Regions from separate parts of the Homo sapiens genome. Here regions 1 and 2 are each linked to region 3. The links are contacts of gene promoters, found by promoter capture Hi-C in human tissues and cell types (Jung and others, 2019). All regions are on one chromosome and are shown on one strand. The core of a region is centred on a gene start or on the middle of the fragment in contact, and the rest is flanking DNA. Distances in the headings are between cores, read along the strand shown.

Region 1 (4,447 bases), core at 1,083-3,582, 200 kb after region 3:
TGAGGTCTTCCTCTGTGCGTTAAGAAAGCCTTGCAATTTCATGTCAATCTGCCTCCTCTCGGCCTAAACACAGAAGTAGCCCCATTAGTGAGGTGGACACAACACTATTGAAATGAATACTCAACACAGTGCAGCCCTATCTTTACTGCTACCATGCTCCGGTGTACTCCTTTCCTGTCACCTTGCCTCTTTAATACATCAAATGAAGCTCAAAGTTTCCTGATGAAAGGACAGAAAAATCAGCAGAGTGGAGAGATCCCAGAATGTTGGACAGCCACAGGCCAGTGGCTCCCAATTTCGCAGTCACAATGAGGACAGAGTCTGCACCAGGGGTTGGTGACTCACTGAAGAGGTTCAGCTTCTTATCAGCCTGCAGGGCTTCTTCTCTGGTGAAGGGGAAGTCAAACCAGCGTGAGCGACTCAGGTTGAGCTGCATAGTTCTGCCGAAGATCTCGATATATGACGGGGCCCGTTCTATTGCTTGAGTCCCAATCTGGATCCGCATGCCTGTCATCACCATAGTGCTATTGTTGTTACTAATCTCAATGGTGAAGCCTCCGGGCTGTAGGGAGACAAGGCACACATCAAGAAACTACAGAAGTTCTTAAGTTTTAACTAGGACTCCTTCTTCTCTGACATTGTCTCAACATGTGAAGCTCATTAAAACTTATCCTTTTAACTCCCTGGTAATGACTTCCTTGTTTCTAAAAATGGGAAAATAGGAAAAGAGAGCAGATTCTCTTCAATGTCAGGCTTCCTTCTCCCCAGTATTAACCACCTCTTTGATGTCCTCTACACAGTAATCCTGCTGGTATTGGTGGAAACCCAACCTGTACAAGTCCTTTGCCAAGTGAGTAAGAATATCCATTTTTCTAAGGAACCATTTAACTAGAACCGAGGGTTGTGACTGTGAGTATATACTCTATACTTGCTTTCTAAAAGGAGATGTGTTCTCAAACCATATTGTTTGAGTCCTTCTACCCAGGGATTGATCCCAGCCCAGTGCCATTCTTACCTTGGTGTTGGCCACATACATGCCAGTGGAATTCAGCCGGTGTTTTATCTGTTGTGCATTATAGACCTGTAGGAGGTCGTTACCACCAAACTCCACATCTGTCAGCTGCTGGTTGTGTTCAAAAAAGTCAATGGGGAAAGTCACCTGGCTAGACGTGCGGGTTGCTGCAGAGAACGGTACCAGATCGTCAAGAGTCTCTCCCACCTCTGCCCCAACACCACTGGTAAAGACTCCTCCCAGACAGAGCCCACACTCACACTCTAATCTAAGCAAACTCTGGATTATAACATTTGCATCGGCATGATGCCTACATGTGGTTAGCTCTCCAATGGTTGTTATCCCTAACTATGACATGTCCTAGCAATACCAAGAAATCTGGCATTGGTATTGGGTGTACAGCTAATAACAATAGGCTCTCCTGTAACTGGGTTATTTAAAATAAACAATAGGAGCTACTTCTTTAATGAATGTAAATGAATAAACCATTCTTTCAAAATAGACTGTAGAGCAAATTTAAGGTAATGTGATGATCCCTGTAATGGTCTTTGCTTAGCTGGATTTGCTCACTGCTAAACTCAAGCTTTCACTTTCCTGAAGAGTCCTGAGTCAGTCAAGTGCTAGACCACCAGCTCAGAGACCTGTGGTGGGCTCTTCACTACTCAGTGGGAAATTAACCAGCTGAAGAGGTCTATACTTCAATCAGTTCTTCAGGGAAGTCATTCTCCTAAACCTAGAGAGAACAATCTCTCAAATAAGGTCCAGGACATAACTCGTTACTAGGCACCAAAGAACTGCTGGCCTGAAACAGGCAGCCAATGGGTGCTTGACATTTGGAAACATAACTCTGCTTTTGGGAAATTAACTTTACAAAATGTGCAAGTAGGACAGTCACATTTCTTCACAGATATTTTCAACAGTCTATTCTGAGTCACTGTCTAGAAGACCACCATTCCTACTCCCCCACAAGTCATCTGAGAAGGAGCCTTACTGATTGTAGCTGTTTTGCGCTTTCGAACAGGCTTCATGATGCTGATGACACTGCTGGGCTGCAGGGATGGCTGCAGCCAGTAGGAGGTGTTCTCCACGTTGGCCATGTAAATGCGCAGGCTGCCATCCTCACACAGCAGAATCATTGTTGTCCGCTGCTGCTCATTGCAGGCCGTGTGCCTAATAGCAACCATGTCTTGGATCTAGGAGGAGAGGACAAAGGAGGGTCTTCGTTCCCACACCCACAGATCAGCATCCTCACAGAAAAAGAGGCAGAGATGCAACTGGTTTCATGGTCAGTTGAGGGGCTGTACAGAAGGGTGGCAAAGAAAAGGCATCTAGAAGAAAAAGGACTGAAAATCTTTTATGGGCCTCCATTGAAAGAGCTGGGAAAGTGAAATGAATATACAAACATAAAAAGAGACCAGGTTCACAGCAAAGTAATGAATGGGAAAATCTGGCACTGACCTTCGCTTTAGCAGGAAGAGTCTTAATCTCCTGGATAAGAAAAGTGTCTGGTTTCACCATAACTACCAGCGGCACCCCTGTAGTTTGCTGGACACAGCACACCAAGCCAGGGTGGTTCATCACCTCAGACCACTGGCAAAGAGCAGGAGAAGTCTTACTGCCACCATTGGAACTGCAGACAACAAAACTGGCCACAGTTAGAGTGTCAGTCACCATTTAATAGTTCTTTTCTTGACCTAAAAACCATCCTCTAACTGGCTACGTGACTCCAAAGCAATATCCTTGGCCAGGGACTCAGATTATCCACAGGTTAGTTTTATTCCAAGCCATGCACACATGCTCATACACCCCAATGCGTGCTTATGGCAGGGCAGTCCTCATTTGGAGTCTCCACTGTGAGGTTCCATGTCCGAAGAACAGGTGGCCCTATGTGCCTAGAGGCTATCAACTGCAGAGGGCCATGGAGCTGCCTAAGGCTAATGACCCATTGTCCTATCAGGATCTCCAAACACATCGAGTTAGTGTGAACTGGTATCCATTTTATTTCATCCCAAACCATGTAATTCCCAAAGAAAGGTCTGAGAGAAAGTGCTACAATGGGTCATCAATGGCAGATAAGAAACAAGGGAAGACACCATAAGCCTCTTCTTCCTCCTCCCTAAATGAAACTCTCACTACCTTACACACCCCTCTATTATTTGCAAACTTGTTGAAAGTCTCTTCCTCCCCCATATCCAACCATGCCCCCATTACTGATACGTTCTATTTGCTAACAGAGTAAGTCTCCCCAGGAGAAAAACTTAAAGGGCATTATGGCAGAATGAGTGTCTAAGAGAAATTTAGGTTCCCTTCTCACATTAAAATCACATTTATAACATTAACTATAGGTTTTCCTTCTGAGTAACAGTGGACCCCTAAACTACCTCTGACAGCTTGGGGTCTCCACAGTGGAGGACAAACCGTGCAGACAACCCAACCTGCCAAACCCGGATGTTCCTTGATTTTAAAGATACCTAGCAGGGGAGAAAAAAAGGTTGGCTGGAGAAAATTAAGTTTCACAAAACTCAGAACAGATAGCAGATAGTGGGAGTGGAGATCCCACATTGAATGTGGACATTGCGGAAGTTGAACATTAAATGTTCATTCCCACCTTTTGATGTTGATGGGGAAGAGTTGCAACACCTCCAGGGTTGTCCTGCTGATGGTGGCTGCGAATGATTTGCCTTGACAATAGCTGAAGAACAACATCTGCAACACGTGGGAGTAGTACACGGACACACCACCGCCCGCCACCTGGCTGTTACTGTCCTGCTGGCACAAAGACACATATTTGCAGTAATTCATGTTGCCTTGGCTACCAACTTCCGGTTTATACTGGTTATTATTTTCAATCATGATCAGGTGCTCTCATACTCTAAGCATGAGATCCCTGTGGGTAAATCTTACAAAGACCCTGAGAAAAATGGAACTTGAAGTTGAATTAATTTAGCCCTAAAGGATAAGAGAGTTTGCTATTAGGTAGAAAGTTAGATGGAAAAACAAAGAAAAAGAAAAAAAGATCCAGTTAGATGAAGTCCACAGAAAAATGTTATAAAAGAACAAAGAAAAAAGAATAGAGGAGTTGCTAAATAATTAAATCCGGAATAGAAGGAAATAGCAACATGTGCTCTAACCTTCAGGTCCTCATGATTGATTTCCAACACATTAGTGACATAGAAGGGTCCCTGCTGGGCACTGCTGGCCTCTTCCATAAGCTGAGTATAGATGTACCCAGCCGAAGACATTATAACAATGATGTTCTTTCCCTCCTCATTGAAAAGGAAGGTAACATCTCTTATCTTTGAGCTTGGCAGGAGAAAATAGAAGGTTGGACTCAAGGCATCAACACACAGGTCATAAATCTGCAGGATGGAAGAAAAATTAAATAAGGGAAATCTATCTCAGTCCCATCCCCCAAATATCTTAGTGAATCCAAAT
Region 2 (4,741 bases), core at 425-2,924, 220 kb after region 3:
GCATAAAGCCCACAGAGCTGGGCACGGTGGCTCACACCTGTAATCCCAGCACTTTGGGAGGCTGAGGCAGGTGGATCACCTGAGGTCGGGAGTTCAAGACCAGCCTGGCCAACATGGAGAAACCCCATTTCTACTGAAAATACAAAAATACAAAAATTAGCCAGGCATGGTGGTATGCACCTGTCATCCCTGCCACTCGGGAAACTGAGGAGAATCACTTGAACCCAGGAGGTGGAGGTTACAGTGAGATGAGATCGCACCACTGCACTCCGGCCTGGGTGACACAGTGAGATTCCATCTCAAAACAAAAAAGCACCATAGAACAGGAGTGAACACTGAGATCCTACAGGGACCAGATAAAGTCAATAAGCTTAAGAGAGCCCGGTGAAAACTGCTGCAAAGGGAACTAATTCTCAGCTCCAGTCTGTTACTGTTGTTTGGGAAGTCAGGCCCAGTTTTGCCAGTTCTTCCAATTTAAGAAAAGCCAGAAATCTAAACTTGTGAATAATCTCCCAATTTTATATACTGAAATTAACTTTAAATATTTAAACATCATACAGACCAAAGTCTACAGGGCATGCAATTTGCAGTGTTTGTTATAGAAAGAGTTGAATTTCAAATAATTTCTAACTCATTTAGAGATTTTTTTTTTTCTCCAACTACATATCATCACATGTAAAGAGCATTTAAGGGCCAGGCACAGTGGCTCATGCCTGTAATCCCAGCACTTTGGGAGGCTGAGGTGGGTAGATCACCTGAGGTTAGGAATTCAAGACCAGCCTGGCCAACATGGCGAAACCCCGTCTCTACTAAAAACACAAAAATTAGCCAGGCACGGTGGTGCATGCCTGTAATCCCAGCTACTCAGGAGGCTGAGGCAGGAGAATCACTTGAACCCAGGGGGTGGAGGTTGCAGTGAGCCAAGATCGCACCATTGCACTCCAGCCTGGGCGACAGAGCGAGATGCCATCTCAGAAAAAAATTTTTTTAATAATAATAAATAAAGAGCATTTAAGGAGCTTTAACTCAGTTAATAACAGAAATGACAGTGTTTTGAAAAATTACCTTTCTCTGTATCCTACGAGTAAAATCGTACAAAATATTTAAAGAATTATAGACATTAAACTTCCTCCTGACTCCTCCTGCACTATTTGAAAATTTCCTCATCAAGCACCCCTTCATACTAGAGAAGAAAGCATTATACGTGGGGAAAAAAACCCCTAAGCTGAAGAAAGAGAAAAATGTCAAATTCTGAGTCAATGCGGGATCTGCACGGAGTGAAGAGTGCATGTGCATCTCTGGGCAGGCAGTTCGCCACACCTGGTGAACGATGCATAGGTGTCAATGAGTTGCAGCGTGGCTGGAAGTAGGTTCTTGGTAATCTCAGACGACTTATGAGGATCAGTCTCAGCAGCCATCTTAGAAAAATGCTCATCCAAAGAGACCTGGACCTTTGAGATCGCGGCATCAAGGGTGTAGATGGACTGCAGACTGGGAATTTCATGCAGCTGCAAGATGGTGGTACAGTCGATACTACAGAAGGATGAGATCTTTAAAAATATGCAAAATATAATTAGCTGTGGCAATGGGCTATGGTAGAAACCAAGTTCTATCATTTAGGTTCCAATATTACATACCTGTCGAGCGAAGTATTCCTCTACTATTTCAACATCATATTTCACTGAGCTACACTTAGTGGTGGATGCCAGTTCTAGAAGCGAGCTAGCATGCTCAGCCTTCATTCCCTGTTTGATAAGGTGATCCTATTTGGACAGCAAGAAAAAGTGTTTAGGAGATGACTATAGGCAAAGCTTTCATTATCTTCAAATTTAAAAGCTCCAGTAAGCACAAAGCACTTTGGCTTTGAATAGTCTTAGCAGCAAGCTCTGTGTTACCTTTATCCAGTTGACATAGGAGCTGATCCGGAGCCGAGAAGACCATCGCAGAGTGTGCAAGATGTCACATTCGCTCATCTCAGGTGAGTTCATGGATAGCTGGTTAATGTAAGTCTTTGATGGTGGTAAAATTCCTAGGATCCTCCACAGTATCAAGAAGTAATATTGAAGGGCACAGGCCTCCTGGAGAAAGGAAAAGCAGCATAGAGGTAGCACTTGGTATGGCCTCAAGATCTCCCTCACAGTACGAACTACTCCAAATACAACTTTTAAACCAGAACTGTATAGAGTCCTGATTTTAAATTGAGATTTGGCCCCCAAGTCCATTCTCCAGATCTTTCTAGAGAGTGCACCTAGCAGAAAATGGCAGAACACACATACAAATAATTTGTTCCGTATTCTGCACATTTCACAGACCAAAAAGGCTATTCCAAGACAACTTTGGCTCCCCAATAATTTACCAATTAACCAAAAGAGGGCAGGACATTCTGCTTAGCAGACCTGCAATCAGCTATCCGTTTTTGTGGCCTGGAATTGCTTCTAGAATATAGAGACACATTAACAGAGCCATGGAAAAATCTCAAGCGTGAGGCTTTCAATATCACACATCAACCAGTATTGACAGGAGATATAGCACTTGGGGGGGGACCACTAACTCTTAAATTACAGTTCTCTCAATGGTAACCAAAAAAATGCAACAGCTGATTAAATTATCTTTAAGGTGAACATAGCTACACAAACTACCTAGAAATACTCAAGTATCAGTCAGTTTTGCAAATCAATATTCAATAAACTGGTTACATTTCAGAAGGAAATTTCTGATAGAAATGATCAATGATCAAACACAACCCAAAGACTTCTCAGGGTTCCATGGTCTTACCAAGGCTGTTACATTCTTGTTTTCCTTTCTCCTAACTGTATCAAGCTGGGACCCAGCTGCAAGCAGGGCTGTCAGTGCAGCATAAAGCTCATCATACTTGACAAGCTTGGAGAAAAGGACGTCACATGCCTGACATCAAGAAAGAAAGAGAGTCATTTCCTTACTTTTAAAGTATTTTTTCCTACTGCCTATACACTATCACTTATCCTCATGATTGACAAAATATCCCATCAAATCATAATCATTAATTTCTCCTTGGAACAGATTCCCATTCTGGGACATTACTCACACTGTTTGCAAGCTATTGTGAGCACACAGCTGCTGGCTTTAGAATAAGGGAGTAAGACAATTATTTTTGTCCATTAAAATACTTGCATGTGAAAAATGCTAACAAAGACTGTCTTCAAAAATCAAGTGTCAGAGGTGCCAATCCAGAAAGGACAAACCCCACAGCAAAAGTGCACCCAACAAATAAATATCCAAGTAACATTTTCCTATTAGAATAAGCTCAAATCGTAACACAGACCACATTTCCTCACTATAAAAAGTCAGTCATTCCCTTTCCCCCCAGTAGGCTGATTCTGGTGGAAACCATCTGACCCACATATAAAATGCAGTTTTAAAATTCCTAGTACCACAGAATCAAGTCGGTTCAAATCATCCTCTGAGGCTTCTGGGGACAGGACACAGTAGAATCTGGGGTGTGGGACAGCATCTGAAAAGTAATATGCTGATTAAAAGAATGGTTCCATTCTTAACTCTATCTGACTAGTATGCAATGTAAAACTCAGAAAATACTTTATAATAAGGTTTCCCAACCTTAACAATATTGACATCTGGAGCCAGATAAGTGTTTGCTGTGGGAGGCCATCTTATGCACTCTAGGTGACTTAACAGCAGCCCTGGCCTCTACCCCCTGAATGCCAGTAGCACCCCCAGTTGTGACAACCAAAAATATCTAGACATTGCCAAATGTCCTGGAGGGGAGAGGGCAAAATCACCCATTGAGAACCATTGCTCTAAGAGTTAAGTAGGGTGCCCTAGAATCAAATCAATCAACAAATTATATCATTAGTCTGCACACATTAAACTTACATGCTGTTTCCCTAACATCAAATAGTAAAAGATAACAGTAAACTCACACTAAGGCTTCACAAAAGTTTCCACAAAACACACTTAACATCTAATAATCCTCAGGGTAAGTGCAAACACACACTAAAAATGAACACAACAAACACTTCATCCAAAGAACAGACAATTGCTATATGAGAAAAACACTAGAGATAATCTCATGTTCACATTCGTTTCAGACCAGCATATCACCAAGACCCAAAAGGAAATTTAGCTATACATTAGAACCACAACTCTAAGGGAAAATAAGGAAAATTAATGACACAGAGTGGCAAGAATCCATATACTGTACCCTATGGCCAGACACGAGGATTCTGATTTCTTGTGTCTCAATTTATTTTTTAGTTTTTATGTTTTTTTTGAGACAGGGGTCTCACTCTGTCAACCAGGCTGGAGTACAGTGGCGTGATCACAGCTCACTGCAACCTCAACCTCCCAAGCTCAAACGATCCTCCCACCTTAGCCTCTCGAGTAGCTGGCACCACAGGCACGTGCCACCATGCCCGGCTACTTATTAAAATAATTTTTGGTAGACGGGATCTACTCAGGCTGATCTCAAATTCCTGGGTTCAAGCGATCTTCCCACTTTGCCCTCCCAAAGTGCTGGGATTACAGGCATGAGCCACCATGCTCAGCCTCAATTTTTTTTTTTTCCTTGAAATAGAGTCTTGTTCTGCTGCCCAGGCTGGAGTGCAGTGGTGCAATCTTAGCTCACTGCAACCTCTGCTTCCTGGTGCAAGTGATTCTCCTGCCTCAGCCACCAGAGTAGCTGGGATTACAGGTAGGCACCACCAAGCCTGGCTAAATGTTGTTTGTATTTTTTCAGTAGAGATGG
Region 3 (4,447 bases), core at 730-3,229:
AGCCAAGCAGACAGTATTGTCGGCCAGACTGCAGACAGGAAGCAATGACAGTTTCCCAGCTGGGGAATCTGGGCTAGGCAGGAATGCACTGGCCAGTCTTGCAGAGTCTGGACCCCAGTTCTAGCCAGAGATTGTGGTCTCAGTCCATTCAATGTCCAGTCTCCAGCCCAACATTATCTTCTCCTGGGGGCTTTTAAGGCTGAGTTTGTTAGGGCTCAATAAACCATGAGACTCAGGGAGTGGGGAGAAGAGGGATGAAAGGAGGCATTTTATAAAAGCTTGTGAGCAGTCTGTTGTAGTTGTGGTTATCCAACCCAGCAAGCTGGACCTTACAGAGCTGGAGCAAGACGGCAGACACTGGCCCCAGGGGGTAGGGGCAGATCCATCCATTTTCAAAAACGTGATCTCATTTAATTCAAGAAATAAAAAGGCAGTGGGTTGGTTAGAGTTTTTCTTTTCATATGTTGAGGGAGGGGAGCATATTTCCTACTTCCTTGGTAAAAATACTTATGCTAGGAGACAGACTAGCCAGGAGTGGTTAAAATCTCTGGTTGAAATCCCGGTTTCACCACTTACTCGCCAAGCCACCTTAGGCAAATCACTTAGCATTTCTGCACCTCGGTTTCCTCATCTGCGAGATGAGGATAAGACTGCCTTACACAATACGCTGTATTGTGCTGAGAATTAAATGAGATCGCATAAAACACAGACAGTTATTATGTCACCTAGAAAACAATGTGCCTCACCAGTGACAGCATCGAGGTGGCCCCCACGGTAGCCAGCGCCCGCCCCCATCCTGGGATCTAGATAACTGGGCCTTCCTGGCGTACGTAAGACGCTCTGCAAACACAGCTTCCAGCCCACCTGCCAGTACCAGCTGCCCGCCCGGCCCCCGTCCCGCATACGCATTCCGCGGCAGCCTGGACCTGGGCGCCCCGTCCCAGGGCGGCGGGGGAGGGGCGGCCACTCACCTCCGCTTATACTCGTCGCGCTCGCGCTTCACCTTGGCCAGCACGTTGTAGAGCGCGCGGATCTCCGGCGTGATGGTGTCGATCTGCACGCCCACGCCGTCGGGGTGCACCCACGACACGCCGGGGCCCTGCACGGTCTCCACGCCGCCGCCGCCCGTGCGCCGCACCTGCGTGTAGCTCCAGATGGTCCCGGGCAGGCGGCCGTAGTGCTGCGGGTGCGAGCCGCCGCCGGGGGGCAGGCCGCCCAGGGCCACGGCATTGGCGTTGGCGCCGGCCGCCGCGCCACTGCTGAGGCCGTGCCCGCCGCCGGGCGCCGGGGGCCGCAGCAACTCGGGCCCGGTCTGCACGGCCTGCTCGCGGGAGAAGGTCTTGTAGCGCAGCCGCCGCTCGCGCTCGCTCTGCTGCTGCTCCAGCTGCTTCTCCAGCAGCCGGTTGCGCCGCTCCAGCTCGTGCACCTTAGCCAGGAAGCAGCGGAAGCGCACGTTGAGCCCCTTCAAGAGGTGGATGTTGGAGCCCAGGTCGTCCCGCAGCGCCGCCGTCACCGGCGACGGACCCGGCCCTGCCCCGCCGCCGCCGCCGCCCCCGCCAGGGCAGCCCCCGCCGCCGCCGCCCGGCGGGCAGCCGAAGGCCAAGGCCATCTCCCCGAACAGCAGCGAGTTCACCATGCGCCGGCTGCGCGGCTCAGGGCCCCGGGCCCGCGGCTCCAGGTGCGGCTCCAGCTCCGGGCAGGGCTCCCGGCGCGGCCGGGCCAGGGTGGGCGCGGGCTCCAGCGCGGCCGGCCGGGCGGTTCCAGATGCGCGCCAGATGCGGCCTCCGCAGAGACGGCAGGACGGATGGCCCCGGATGCGGGCGCCGAGGCGAGAGAGGGCACTCGGCCGCTCCTCGGGACGCGGTGGAGGCCGCGGTATCTGCGCGGGGCCAGAAGGGTCGCGGGTCTCACCGCCCGGGCTGTCAGAGACGCTGTGGAGGGGCCGCGGCAGCCGCACGCAGAGGACTCTCGGCCGGCACTGCCCCTTCTGCGGCGGGCCCCGCCCACTGCAGACACTGGCCCCGCCCCCGCCGCGGCCCCGCCCACCCCTCCTCCCTCTGCGGCGTTCCCCGAGCCCGAGGCTCCGCCCCACGAGGCCCGCAGCGCCGGGCCCCACCCACAGACCCTCGGCTCCGCCCACCTCCGGGTTCTCCCGCTTTCTCCGCAGCATAGACTCCGCCCAGCTCCCCGGCGGGGCCACGCCCTCTCCTGCGTCTGGTCCTGCCTCCCCGCCGGGTGCCGATTCTCTGCTGGGGGACCCGGACCGCAGAGCTGCACCAGGGACCGGGTTAGCTGGAACCGCCGCAGAGCCAGCCGGGCCTCTTAAAGGGGCCAGCAGCCTCGGCAACGCTCGCTTTCCACTTTTTAGGGCGCTCCTCTCCCACGTCGCCTGCCGAGAGGGCTCCGTTTCTCTGTCCTCTCTGCCCGCAATGCCCCTGGCCCCAAATTCCTTCGGATGTGCGCGACCGCGGCTGGAAGGGCTGGGGGACCACAGTATCCGAAGGTGCATCGGCACCCCACCCCCACTCTAGCCTGGGGAGGCCCAGATCGACCTTTCGGGGATAAGAGGGCGCCCGTGCCCCACGCTGCGGACCCGGGGGTGGGCTCCTCGAATGCTAGCTGCGGGCCTTGTCCTCTCGAGATCGGCCCGGGCACAGCTAAGCCCGCTGGTTCCCCCGCCCACTGAGGAGCCGAGCAGCATGGGGGTTGGGGAGGCCGAGCAAGACCCTCCCGGGATGACACCCACAAACTCGGCCTGGGCCTCGCCTCTGCTGAGCTGCTCAGCACCTCCCCACCACCCACACCCACACGCTGAGATGAAGCTGACCCCGAGAGCTGGGGATTCATTTCACAGACATGGGGCTTAGCGGGCCGCCTGGGGCAGACCGAGGCAACCCGAGGACCCATTCATTCATTCATTCATTCATTCAAATGTTTTCACACCTACCACGTTAAAGGCCAAGTTCTCCAGTCTCTGGTGTCTCCTGAACCGTGTTGCAAACATTAGTATATGTCAGGCGCCATACTTATTTATTATCCCCATTTTACAGAGAAGGTCACTGAGACGTTAAGTAGCCACAATGGTCCAAAGTGCATGCTCTAACCGGCCTTCCACAATGCTGGCCTCGGGCCTCGTGTCCATTTCCGCATTTGGTCCTCACCGCAAACCTCAGAGGGGAGGTGACCCCCACCTTGAACCCCCACCTTTGAACGCCTGTGGCTTGCATTGTATGCACTTAACCAGATATGTGGCATGTTTCAGATACTTCCGACTGCATTTTTTACTAGCAGTTTAATTTTTGTCTTGTTATTAACTTTTGTGTTTGTTTTGTCTCTTTGTATGTAAGCTTGAGGACAGGCACACTGTCTTACATGGACAATGCCTTGGTGTTCTTGGTGACAAAGGAGACACGGGCTTGCCCTGGAGTGATGTGGCTGTGATGTTAGTCTGCTGTGTTTTTGATTTAGCCACAAAAGCAAACCTTCCCCATAGTTCCTTCCCTCAACCACAGTTCCTTGCTTCCTGCCAACACGGACTCACCTTAAACACCCAGCTCTGAAACTCACTCATCTAGAAACCTTTCTCTGCTTAACCCAACCCAGTCTGGACACTGCCCTTTACTCTTCGTTCTCTCGTCTCTTGATGATGTTCTTGTTTATCTAACCTAAGGAATCAAAACCCCTTTGCCTTGAAGCAGAGGTTCATGGACCCCCAAGAGGACTGAGGATAGAATTCTGGGGGGTCCATGACACAGGGGTGGACAAAAGTTATACCTTTAGCCTCACTAATCTCTAAAGGCTTTGTTGTCTGTTTGTTTATTTGTTTGTTTGAAACAGAGTTTCACTCTTGTTGCCCAGGCTAGAGTGCAATGGTGCGATCTTGGCTCATCACAACCTCCACCTCCGGGGTTCAAGAGATTATCCTGCCTCAGCCTCCCAAGTAGCTGGGATTACAGGCATGCGCCACCACACCCGGCTAATTTTTTTGTATTCTTAGTAGAGATGGGGGTTTCTCTATGTTGGTCAGGCTGGTCTTGAACCCCCAACCTCAGGTGATCCGCCCACCTTGACCTCCCGAAGTTCTGGGATTACAGACGTAAGCCACCGTGCCCAGCCAATGGTTTTTAACATATCCTTTGATTATGAATGTAGGCAGCAAGTAGATGTCCCTGTGATTTTGTCACTAGTAGAAATCACAGGTATTTATGTAACACACTACAGTTATTGTAAACATCTCAAGATATCATCTAAGCTACGAGAACTGTGAAATTAAAGTCATATTAGACCGACCACTAAATCTTATTTAATGTATTAGTAAAAGAGAACGTATGTTACTATATGAGAAATTGTTAATAGTTTGATATCTATTTTTAGTAAAATGACTTTTCATAGTAATCCTAATGCCTTTTTAAAAAAATTATTCTCAGAAGGGGTCCACAGGCTCCAC

The links. The method cuts DNA at HindIII sites, captures the fragments that hold promoters and counts their contacts. A contact is called where the count stands out against the background at its distance.
Region 1: a contact is called between a fragment that was not itself captured here and the fragment with the promoter of IFFO2 in region 3, in 1 of the 25 tissues and cell types used here (liver).
Region 2: a fragment that was not itself captured here is called in contact with the fragment with the promoter of IFFO2 in region 3 in 1 of the 25 tissues and cell types used here (lymphoblastoid cells).

What each region holds. Positions count from the first base shown.
Region 1 is chr1:19,151,298-19,155,744 of GRCh38, forward strand. It overlaps UBR4 (ubiquitin protein ligase E3 component n-recognin 4), which reads right to left. Exons shown (of 106, transcript NM_020765.3): 43 at 4,144-4,371; 44 at 3,621-3,778; 45 at 2,471-2,642; 46 at 2,004-2,205; 47 at 1,016-1,179; 48 at 346-562. Among named protein-coding and RNA genes, the nearest start is that of UBR4, 57 kb to the right of the region's middle. The HindIII fragment of the contact is 5,835 bases long and covers 1-4,447 here.
Region 2 is chr1:19,171,544-19,176,284 of GRCh38, forward strand. It overlaps UBR4 (ubiquitin protein ligase E3 component n-recognin 4), which reads right to left. Exons shown (of 106, transcript NM_020765.3): 21 at 3,411-3,490; 22 at 2,776-2,904; 23 at 1,896-2,078; 24 at 1,638-1,763; 25 at 1,321-1,550. Among named protein-coding and RNA genes, the nearest start is that of UBR4, 36 kb to the right of the region's middle. The HindIII fragment of the contact is 4,514 bases long and covers 1-3,931 here.
Region 3 is chr1:18,954,697-18,959,143 of GRCh38, forward strand. IFFO2 (intermediate filament family orphan 2) reads right to left here and starts at 1,980. Exons shown (of 9, transcript NM_001136265.2): 1 at 972-1,980. The coding sequence starts at 1,636. RefSeq lists silencers at 733-922, 1,163-1,422, 1,993-2,162. The HindIII fragment of the contact is 10,098 bases long and covers 1-4,447 here.